Regions from separate parts of the Homo sapiens genome. Here region 2 is linked to region 1. The links are contacts of gene promoters, found by promoter capture Hi-C in blood cells and fetal thymus (Javierre and others, 2016). All regions are on one chromosome and are shown on one strand. The core of a region is centred on a gene start or on the middle of the fragment in contact, and the rest is flanking DNA. Distances in the headings are between cores, read along the strand shown.

Region 1 (5,905 bases), core at 2,274-4,773:
TTTTTCTTAATTTGCTGTGGGGATATGTTAGTACCCTACAAGGCATCCAGCTTTTAAAATAATGCCACATTACAAAGGAATTGGTTAACAAGAAGTGTAGGGGGGAAGGGTAATTTTTTTTTTTTTTTTTTTGAGACGGAGTGTCACTCTGTTGCCCAGGCTGGAGTGCAATGGCACAATCTCGGCTCACTGCAACCTCTGCCTCCCAGGTTCAAGTGATTCTCCCGCCTCAGCCTTCCAAGTGGCTGGGATTACAGGCACCCGCCATCATGCCCAGCTAATTTTTGTATTTTTGTAGAGACAGGATTTCACCATGTTGGCCAGGCTGTTCTTGAACTCCTGACCTCAGGTGATCTGCCCACCTTGGCCTCCCAAAGTGTTAGGGTTACAGGCGTGAGCCACGGTGCCTGGCCGGGGAGGGTAATTTAAAAACAGACCTGCTTTATGCCATTTAAAATGGGAATATGTCTTGTTAAAAACACATTTAAATCCAGGGAGGTTTCTCTGTGCCATTAGTATCAAGCACTAAATGAACACTGTATGACTGAGATGACAGAAATTTCCTCTTGGAGAAAATTGAAGCCAACAGTTGATCAACACAGCATATAATTAACAGGGCAGGGTGTGGAGTCAGGCTGCCTGGGTTCAAATTCCGGAACCACCATTGAGTGGCCTTGGAGAAATAGCTTAATATTCTGTCTCAGTTTACTTATCTAGAAAATGGACATAATTATGATGTCTCCCTCAAAGAGCTTTTCTAAGTATTAAATGATGTAATATATTTAAAGAGGTTAGAACATGGTCTGACATTCAATACATTCTAGCTATGATTAAGTGTTAATTCAGTCTGGTAAAAGTGAACGTAGTCTTTGCCAAGGGTAGTAAAAAAGCTCTGACCCTCATCAAAGATGTTAGATTGAGAGCCAGGAGTCTACATTCATTGTCCCAAATAATGAATGCTGAACTCAAGAACATCACAGCATAGAGAAACCTCTGTTTGAGCTCTACCTCCCCGTGATGGCCCCTGTCCCCACCTACCTCTCCCAAGGCTGCCCCTGATGGCGAAAACTCCCTTCACCACAAGAGCTAACAAAGGTTCAGCAGGAACTGCCTCACTCTCTCAGTTTCTCCTTCCTCTTCAGAGGGAGTGCCTCTGTTTTAATTCCAGCTCAGGTTCTTTCTCACACATATATACAAGGAGTTAACATTCTCCGTCTCCTCTGGTTCCAGTTTTTGCAGTGGGCTTAGGAAAATGCTTTTCCTCCCTTCATTTCCTTTATCACCCTCCCTCCTCCACCAAACATTCTGATCATGGCCATAAGCCCAAGCAGTGGCAGTGATAGACTTGTATAAAGAAAAGGAAAACCCATTGAACCTGAAAAGTAAACAGCACAAAGGTCAAATAACAACGAAAGGCTTGTCAAAGGCTTGTACATGGTTGCCAAGAGTGTGGTACTGGCAAGCAATGCTTTGAGACTGTACAGGTAGAGAGAAGTTATTAGGGCCGCAGCATCCATGGGAGGGCTTTGGGGAGAGAGAGAAGAGCTAGAGCTGACCCTGAAGGGACGGTGATTCCCAAACTGTGGTAATCTGGGTGGCCTGAGTAAAGTCATCTGTGCTCAGAGGCAGGGACCAGGTGGGTCTCTCTGGGATGGGGGTTTGTGTTGGAGGCAATGAGCAAAAGTCTGAAAGTATAATTTGAGCCCTTAATGGTAAAGTCCAGAAGTTTGACATCAAAGATGGCAGTGATTTGATCAATGTCGCTTACTGAGGTTTAAGGAAAGATACAAATTATCTGTAAAAATGTAAACTCAAAACAAATTTGTCAAAAGTTCAGTATAGTAGTGTATCACCACTGTGCTAAAGGTTTTCTTATTTCAAATAACTCAATAAAAATGAGGCAAACCATTCTGTAACTAGCTAAACTGAAGTCCATACCAACTATTTAATGCTTCAAAATAACCTTAAACTTCTACTCACTTATCATTCTACAATTTAAGTAAGTAATGTTTCACATTTTCAACAGAATGTATGCTTATAGACACATAAACACGAAAGATAGGGACAGATCATCTTGGTGACTTGCACGTATGTGGCAAGTGTCCTAGGGAAAGGAGCAGGCATGGGGTGAAGGTGGGAACAAGAGTGCCTGGCGTGACCATGTGAGGCAGGGCATTTGGCTATGTGTTGCTGTGTGCTCTGTCTCACCCCCGTGACCCAAGAATATTAGTGTGGCAGGGTGTGGACAGCAAGGATTAATGGGTCATTGGCAAACATGGGCGAGGCTGGTGTTTTACTCCCTTCTGAACAGTCTTCAGTACTATCAAGCTTTTGCTTGTTTTTTGGTGGTGTGGATGGCAGGTTTCATTTGCAGGGCCAAATATATATAAACTAATAACTGCCAGGAATGATTTGTGATATGGAATGAAATCTTTCAGTACTTTTTAAATGATAGAGGCATTAAAAGAATGCAGGAGAAATAAATTCCTGTGGATGAAGCAGACTTTTTTTGGGGGGACAGAATTACTCAGTTCTAACATTAACTATGTTTTATTAGTTCTTTGAAAAACCTGCAAATGATCTGGTCAGTTCTATAATTTTAAAATCTAAAATCGTTTACTATCCCAATACCCTAAAAACAATACTTACTGTGGGGTCTTTTATTAAGACTTTAAAGATACTTTTCATAAGCACAATTTTATTTCCTGGTGACTGGAAAAATAGGAAAATATTTAGAGCCTTTTGCTTAATTGATAAGGTAACACTGAAACAAAGGTTAAAAACAAAGCTGAATGGAGAAAATAATGCCTATAGAAATATTCATGTCAAACAGGTAAGAATATTCTTGGCAACTGCAGCCCCTGCCTCCACAATTGCAAAATTGCAGCTCCCTGTCCCTTCTGTCTGTCTCAGCTCCGCCCACGTCCAGTGGCTGAGCTACAACGAACTGCCCCACCTCTTTTAAAGCGTCTTTCTCTGAACTGTGCAAGGAAGAGAGCATCGCCTGACAGTGGTGAGGTGAAAATTAAAACTACACAGGGGTCAATGCTCTGCTGAAAAGTATGAAAAGAAGTTCGTTTGTAGCGTTTCCCGCAGTCTCCTCGCCTCTCCTCGGCCTCTGGCGCCTTCCTCCCCTGTCTGCTCGCACCCTATATTTCTACCCCAGCTCATCAGTGTATTTGTTTGTTAATTCATTCATTCTTTCATTCATATTCTCCGCTGTTGTTAATTTTCCCATTGACAGTAGGCGCAAGGGGCAACGCCACTCGCCCTGTCCCTCTAGCGTGGCCTCTGTTTGGGGGTCTGGGGTGGAGGTCGTCCCGGCCCGGGTGGTTCCGGACGCCGGCTTTCCGCACCTGGCTCGGTGACGGCCTCGGCGCCCCGCCCTCTTGGCCACGGTCCGCAGCCATCGCCCCAGTGAGGGCGCGGTCTGTGGGCGGGGCCGGCTCCAGGAGCCGCGCTGTGATTGGCCGTGTCCAGGCAACCGCGGAGACGCCGTCGTCAACAGACCGCGCTCGGAACCAGAGGCGCGGGTCACAGAGACCTAGAACAGCTGGAATCCTTCGCCCCCGGCGCGCAGCCTTCGCCCGCCGGAATCGCTGCCTTATCCACCAGCGGGATGCTTACCTCGCCCGCCCTCTCGGGTCAGGCGGGCCCGGGAGGATGGGAGGGTGGCTGCTGAGCGGGAGCCGCCACGTCTTCCACCCGACATATTGCCTAGTAAGTGTGGGAGCGATGCCTGCCGCACGAGAGCCGCCGAGGTGCCGAGCCTTCCAACAAGCGGCCTAGGGAGGTCTTGGAAAAATGCCATTTCTGAGGTGGACTACACGCCCACTTTACAGATGCGGAAACAGTACCAGGAAAGCTCGGTGACTTGCCCTGGCCCACTTAATCGTCCGCTACCCAGGGCAAGCCGAGGGTCAAGGTACCGACCCCTCCTACTCTAGAGCTCTTTCCATCACACCTCACCCGAGCCCACGCCCAGCCGCTCTGGTGGAAAAGCGGTTTTCCTAGTTTCTGTCTATGCCATAGGCCAGCAGTTCAAGGTGATGAAGTCCACCTGGGCTTTGGAGGGAACATGGGAACCAGAAGAAACACATTTCCTGAACATAAGGATAAATATGTATAGTCTAAAAGCCAAAGCAACACTTACATGGTTTCACAATCATATCAGTTTCTTTCACCCTCCTTATATGGAAATAAGACTTAATAAGTAGATTTAGTTTCCATTTGGTAGAGCTTTTCCTTTCATTTTCTTGGAAGCTCTGTTTCTTCTCAGCAATGACCTTCCTCCTAAAGCACTCCAATTATTCTCAGATATTGCCTTCTTGACTATTTTCTCAACGGTGGGACAGTCCGTTTCAATATCCTTGTCTCTGTCCACATTATTTGAGCCAATGATCACAGCCAAGCCTTGTCCCTTAAGGGCAGAAAAAATGGGAGGAGGTTTAAGGGTTTCTGGGGAAGAGTTGCATCAGGATCCATCATGAAGCTTCGTCCCAGTTTCCTTTCTTCCTGGAAAAATCATCGTTCACAAATTCACCTAAATCACAAGATATATATCCACCTAGCCCAGACTTCTTTTTCAGAAACTAACAGGGGTATAGGAAGTTTGGGGTGTTGATAATAAAGTAGCTAGAAGCTTATTGAATGTCTAAACTGGATTAATGGACTCTCAACCCTGCACTGTCCCTGAACCTCCGAGCACATAGGACCTTTTCTCTGAGGGCATGCTGACTTCACAAGACTGTCGCCCAGGGCAGCCCAGGAGCATCTGCTTCCAGTAGACGGGGCCCTTGTACAGTTGCCAGCTTAACCTTTCTATTTTCCCCAAAGCTTTGCCTGCCCACATTTTCAGCTCAGACTTTCACTTCCTTGTTTTTCCTTTTACACTTCCTCCTTCTTCTAAGGAAATACTTTCCTATCCAAACTCTATGTATGGTTCTTGGGATGGCCTCTAAAACTTAGGGCAATGCTCAACTCCGGTATGTTGTTGTTTCCGACTTCTGGGTTACTTGGTTCCCCAATTTATAATAACCTCAGCTGAGGAAACTCTGAATAATAGTAAATAAATAAATAAATAGCATAGTTTTATCAGAAAATAATATATCCCCCTTTATTTTTTTTTGAGACAGGGTCTCGCTCTGTCCCCCAGGCTGGAGTGCAGTGGTGCAATCTTGGCTTACTGCAACCTCTGCCCCCTGGGTTCAAGCAATTCTCCTGCCTCAGCCTCCCTAGTAGCTGGGATTACACGTGTGTGTTACCATGCCCGGCTAATTTTTGTATTTTTAGTAGAGACGAGGTTTCACCATGTTGGCCAGGCTGGTCTCAAGCTCCTGACCTCAGGTGATCCGCCCGCCTTGGCCTCCCAAAGTGCCAAGAGAGCACTTTGGCACTTTAAGGGGGCATTACAGGAGTGAGCCACCGTGCCCGGCCAATATATCCCTTTTTTAAAAGAGCTGTTTCCTGATATTAGCCTTATTAACACTGTGGATATTTGCCTTCTTTGAACAAAATCAGGATTCTCTTAGTAGCTCTGAGTGATCAGTTTTATTCATCTCAACTCTCACACCAAGTGCCTGCTGCGTATGAGGCCCTGTGCTGAGAATCTTCCTGTAGTTTGTCTCCGTAGTCATTGAACTGTCTTTAAGTCTAGTGAGGACAAGCCTGAAGTGCCTAAGACCTTAGTGATAAAGTATCATAGCAAAAGTTAGGGTTTTCCCAGGGAGGGGCTGCGGAAGGTTGTGAAGGGGTTTCGGGGAGGCTTAATGGCAGAGGCAGCATTTGAAATGAGACTTGCAGGCTAAGAGTCTGCATAGGAGAGCCGTCTGAGACCAACCTGGAGGTGGGAAAGCAGGCGGGCTAGTGGGGGTGGGGTGGGGAGAAGGGGGCTACGTCCCGGCTC
Region 2 (6,193 bases), core at 3,253-5,752, 260 kb before region 1:
GGCCAGACCACTCTATGCTCTAATCAAGGAGACCCAGAGGGCAGATACTCATCTAGTAGAATAGGAACCAGAGGCAGAAACAGCCTTCAAAACCTTAAAGCAGGCCCTACTACAAGCTCCAGCTTTAAGCCTTCTCACAGGACAACACTTCTCTTTATACGTCAGAGAGAGAGCAGGGATAGCTCTTGGAGTCCTTACTCAGACTCGTGGGACAACCCCACAACCAGCGGCATACCTAAGTAAGAAAACTGATGTAGTAGCAAAAGGCTGGCCTCACTGTTTATGAGTGGTTGTGGCAGTGGCCATCTTAGTGTCAGAGGCTATCAAAATAATACAAGGAAAGGATCTCACTGTCTGGACTACTCATGATGTAAATGGCATAGTAGGTGCCAAAGGAAGTTTATAGCTATCAGACAACCGCCTACTTAGATAGCAGATGCTACTCCTTGAGCAACCGGTGCTTCAAATATGTACATGTGTGGCCCTCAGCCCTGCCATTTTTCTCCCAGAGGATGGGGAACCAATCGAGCATGACTGCTGACAAATTATAGTCCAGATTTATGCCACCTGAGATGATCTCTTAGAAGTCCCCTTAGCTAATCCTGAACTTAACCTATATACTGATGAAAGTTCATTTGTGGAAAATGGGATATGAAGGGCAGGTTATGCCATAGTTAATGATGCAACCGTACTTGAAAGTAAGCCTCTTCTCCTAGGGAGCAGCACCCAGTTAGCAGAACTAGTGGCACTTACCTGAGCCTTAAAACTGAGAAAGGGAAAAAGAATAAATGTGTGTATACAGATAGCAAGTATGCTTATCTATTCCTACATGCCCATGCTGCAATATGGAAAGAAAGGGAGTTCCTAACCTCTAGGGGAACCCCCATTAAATACCACAAGGAAATTATGGAGTTATTGCACGCAGTACAAAAATCCAAAGAGGTGGCAGTCTCACACCGCCGAAGCCATCAAAAGGGGAAGGAGAAGGGAGAACAGCAGCATAAGCAGCTGGCAGAGGCAGGGAAAGACCAGCAGAAAGGAAAGAGAGAAAGAGACAGAAAGTCAGAGAGAGAGAGGAAGAGACAGAGACAAAGAGGAAGTCAGAGAGAAAGAGAAACAGTGAGAGAGGGGAAGAGACAAAGAGGAAGTCAGAAAGAGAAAAAAAGAGAGACAAAAAAGAAGTCAAAGAGAAAGAAAAAGAAATGGAAGTAGTAAAGAAAAAAGTGTACCCTAGTCCTTTAAAAGCCAGGGTAAATTTAAAACCTATAATTGATAATTGAAGGTCTTCTCTGTAACCCTATAACACTCCAATACCACCTTGCTGTCAGAGTAAACAAGGACATAGCCTGAAAGCACTGAGGTCACTGACAACCAGTAGCCTTCCTATCAAAAATCCTTAACCCAGCAGGTTTCCTAACAGGGGATCTAAATCTTAACTAATTACTATACAAAGGTCCGACCAGACCTAGGAGGAACTCCCTTCAGGACAGGACGATAGATGGTTCCTCCCAAGCAATTAAGGGAAAAAGACACAATGGGTATTCAGTAAGTGATAAGCAAAAAAAAAAAAAAAAAAAAAAATTTTAAAATCCCAAACTTACAAGGTTTTCAACAAAAGTTTGCTAAAAGTTAACAGTGTTGGGGAGGAGTGGCAGCGGCAAGGCAGCCCAGTTTCGTGAAGGCTCTTGGCGCGCCGCGGCCCGCAGGCACCTGGCACGCGCCTTCCCCGCCGCCAGGATGCCCAAGAGGAAGGTCAGCTCCGCTGAAGCCGCTGCCAAGGAAGAGCCCAAGAGGAGATCGGCGCGGTTGTCAGCTAAACCTCCTGCAAAAGTGGAAGCAAAGCCGAAAAAGGCAGCAGCGAAGGATAAATCTTCAGACAAAAACGTGCAAACAAAAGGGAAAAGGGGAGCAAAGGGAAAACAGGCCGAAGTGGCTAACCAAGAAACTAAAGAAGATTTACCTGCAGAAAATGGGGAAACGAAAACTGAGGAGAGTCCAGCCTCTGATGAAGCAGGAGAGAAAGAAGCCAAGTCTGATTAATAACCATATACCATGTCTTATCAGTGGTCCCTGTCTCCCTTCTTGTACAATCCAGAGGAATATTTTTATCAACTATTTTGTAAATGCAAGTTTTTTAGTAGCTCTAGAAACATTTTTAAGAAGGAGGGAATCCCACCTCATCCCATTTTTTAAGTGTAAATGCTTTTTTTTAAGAGGTGAAATCATTTGCTGGTTGTTTATTTTTTGGTACAACCAGAAAATAGTGTGGGATATTGAATTATGGGAGGCTCTGATTGTCTCGGGTGTCAGCTTAACATTCCATAGATGGGGGGTTAGTTTTTATATCCTATAATACAAAGCATATTAAATGGCAATATGGAGTCAGTCCTGCATTTAATGTCTTGAACATTTTAAATTACTTCTATTACCATGTTGTTTTTTAGTAGAATTGTTTCCTAAAGAAAACCACTCTTTGATCATGGCTCTCTCTGCCAGAATTGTGTGCACTCTGTAACATCTTTGGTTGTGGTAGTCCTGTTTTCCTAATAACTTTGTTACTGTGCTGTGAAAGATTACAAATTTGAATATGTAGTGTACGTGCTATTGAGTTGTGAACTGGTGGGCTGTATGTAACAGCTGACCAACATGTGAAGATACTGGTACTTGATAGCCTCTTAAGGAAAATTTGCTTCCAAATTTTAAGCTGGAAAGTCACTGGAATAACTTTAAAAAATAATTACAATACATGGCTTTTTAGAATTTCGTTATGTATGTTAAGATTTGTGTACAAATTGAAATGTCTGTACGATCCTCAACCAATGAAATCTCAATTATGAAAAAAAAAAAGTGTAACATATATTATCCTAACTTCTAATCTTATGGAAATCAGACATAGGGTCTGTGCCCCTCAAAGCTCAAGTGTCTCAGCACAGGGCCATACAACTAACACCCCTACTTATAGGGTTAGAGATGGCCACTGCTACAGGAACCAGAATAGCAGGTTTATCTACATCATTATCCTACTACCACAAACTCTCAAAGGATTTCTCAGACAGTTTGCAAGAAATAATGAAATCTATCCTTACTCTACAATCCCAAATAGACTCTTTGGCAGCAGTGACTCTCCAAAACTGCTGAGGCCTAGACCTCCTCACTGCTGAGAAAGGAGGACTTTGCACCTTCTTAGGAGAAGAGTGTTTTTTTACACTAACCAGTCAGGGATACTACAGCGTTTACAGGAAAAGGCTTCTGAAATCAGACAACGCCTTTCAAACTCTTTCAATGCCTTTCCAACTCTTATACCAACCTCTGGAGTTGGGGAACATGGCATCTTCCCTTTCTAGGTCCTGTGACAGCCATCTTGCTATTACTCGCCTTTGGGCCCTGTATTTTTAATCTCCTTGTCAAATTTGTTTCCTCTACGATCGAGGCCATCAAGCTACAGATGGTCTTACAAATGGAACCCCAAATAAGCTCAACTAACAACTTCTACCAAGGACCCCTGGATCGACCCACTGGCCCTTTGACTGGCCTAGACAGTTCCCCTCTGGAGGACACTACCACTGCAGGGTCCCTTCTTTGCCCTTATCCAGTAGGAAGTAGCTAGAATGATCATTGCCCAATTCCCAACAGCAGTTGGGGTGTCCTATTTAGAGGGGGGATTGAGAGGGGAAGCCAGCTGGATTTCCTGGGTTGAGTGGAGACTTGGAGAACTTTTCTGTCTAGCTAGAGGACTGTAAACACACCAATCAGTGCTCTGTGCCTAGCTAAAGGATTGTAAATGCAACAATCAGCACTCTGTAAAAATGCACCCATCAGCGCTCTGTATCTAGCTAAAGGATTGTAAATGCACCAATCAGCACTCGGTAAAAACGCACCAATCAGCGCTCTGTGTCTAGCTAAAGGATTGTAAATGCACTAATCAGCACTCTGTAAAAATGCACCAGTCAGCACTGTGTCTAGCTAAAGGATTGTAAATGCAACAATCAGCACTCTGTAAAATGGACCAATCAGCGCTCTGTAAAATGGACGAATCAGCAGAACATGGCGGGGAGCCAAATAACGGAATAAAAGCTAGCCACCCAAGCCAGCAGAGGCAACTAGGGTCCCCTTCCACGCTGTGGAAGCTTTGTTCTTTCGCTCTTAATAAATCTTGCTGCTGTTCACTCTTTGGGTCCGCACCACCTTTAAGAGCTGTAACACTCACAACGAAGGTCTATGGCTTCATTCTTCAAGTCAGAGAGACCAAGAACCCACCAGAAGGAACCAACTCTGGACACACAATGAAGGCTTGACCATTTTTCAATATGCTTAAAGGCTAGAAGTGGGAGTTCATCAACAACAAGCACAATATTTTTTGAGTGTTATCAGCCTGTACAACACCAAGCCAGAAATAGCAAAGCAAGGATGTTTGTTAAAATATAGTCACTATTAGTAAGAATTTAAAATAGTTGATGAAATTTTTTTCATGTGAAACACACCACTTTAAGATTTTCCTTACCAGATAAAAACTTTACATTAGTATTGCTACCTTAAAATACGCTGCAGTAATAACAAAGAAATATTCAACTGAAAACTCATGTTTTATACAAATGGTCTGAATTCTTCACTCATTATCAGTTAAAAAAAAAAAAAAAAAAAAAAAACCAAACCCAAATTGTTAAAACCCATTTTCCAGGGAAACAAAAAGCCAACAAACAAACCCAAGACAAAACACTTAAGTAGCTGGCCCATTCTGGTGGCTTTAAATGACAACTCATACACAATCAACACCTTGTAGTAAGCATATTTATACAACAACCTGTTAGTGACTATTGCTAACTCAAAGATAATCAAGAAGTATAAAACTATTGCAAGTTTCCCAGGAAAGGCAGTTCGCAAGCTTGCATATGTTCTAAATATAGTTCTAGGCTTTTCTCACAACATTCAGACCCAACTAATGCTCAGTAACCCTCAAGTGAAATTCAACGGTCCGGAACATTCTAAAACTGCTTATAAAAGCACTTGAGCAAATAAGGAAAAAAGCACTTTCAGCATTTAACATTGTATTTCTAATAATTTGTGTATGAGTTCACTAAAGCATATGTTAAGCTGATATTATGATTCCGATTTGTTAATTACCAAGGGAAACCTCATGCAAACATTCCTCTGAAGGCATCTCAGGCAAACTTACTCCATCATTTATACAGCACTAATGTTTTGTAAATGCTGAGGAAAGCCATTTTCTCAAAGTTGCATTATAGACATATTAGGAGAGTTTGGACCTGCGCATCCTGTCTGTTAGCAGTTGAGGAACTTCTATTTGGAATTGCTTGCTTTAGTAATCCTATATTTAGAAAGAGAATGAATTCCCTGAAGGGGAATTTAAAAAAAAGATCTCCAGCTTCTAGCACTGCTTAGCAAATCCTGAAAATTCTATGTTTGTGAAACAAAAGGAGACAGGAACCTTTCTAAATATCTATAGTCTCTAAGCCTGGTGAATTATGCAGAAAATGCTGAAACACACAGGGAAAACCTTAAGAAGAGCTCTGAAAACTCAGTTTCCACGGTAGGTGGGCTTGCCCCATAGCTGATAAGGTGGGAAATCTAAGCCACCATCATTTCTCAGGCTGATTGCTAAATCAGATCCCAAGTGGTCTCCTTTGCTTTCTGCCCTTCCATGTCTGTAAGTTCACTCTCCACAAAGTAGCTACAGTGACCTTTTACAACACATAAATCAGATGATGTCACTCTCGTTTAAAATCCTGTAATAATTTCCCATTACACTTAGAATAAAATCTAAATATCTCCCAGAGTTCCAGAGAGCCCTGATAAACAGTGAGCTTGATGGGGTAGGGAACCCCAGTGGTCTGATTCACTGCTGTATTCTCAGTCAGCATAGCAGCTAGCATACAGTTGATGTTCATTAAATATTTATTGAATGGGTGAATGAAGGCGGGAATAAGAGAAAACTACCAAAACACTGGCAGAGTTTGGGCTTTGGATATTATAAAAGATACACACATAGGTAGGTACAGATGTAGGTACAGATGTATTATATTAACAGATATATAGGTTTTTAACAGAAATAGACTATGCAATTAAAATGATATATTCATAAAGATGTGATTGCTAAGTGACACTGTATAATATACTTTCATGTTTCACATACCTCTTTTTTTTTTTTTTTTTTTTTTTTTGAGACAGTCTCGGT

What was found. Contacts are between HindIII fragments. The CHiCAGO score rates a contact against its expected background, and 5 or more counts as called.
Region 2: a fragment that was not itself captured here is called in contact with the fragment with the promoter of VWA3B in region 1 in 4 of 17 cell types (total B cells, naive B cells, M2 macrophages and 1 more); the score reaches 8.6 in total B cells.

The regions. Positions count from the first base shown.
Region 1 is chr2:98,083,644-98,089,548 of GRCh38, forward strand. VWA3B (von Willebrand factor A domain containing 3B) reads left to right here and starts at 3,524. Exons shown (of 28, transcript NM_144992.5): 1 at 3,524-3,720. RefSeq lists enhancers at 3,252-3,752, 3,649-3,718, 3,753-4,253. The HindIII fragment of the contact is 2,164 bases long and covers 2,327-4,490 here.
Region 2 is chr2:97,825,511-97,831,703 of GRCh38, forward strand. The region is part of intron 11 of TMEM131 (transmembrane protein 131); the gene reads right to left. It also overlaps the pseudogene HMGN1P36. Among named protein-coding and RNA genes, the nearest start is that of ZAP70, 120 kb to the left of the region's middle. The HindIII fragment of the contact is 755 bases long and covers 4,126-4,880 here.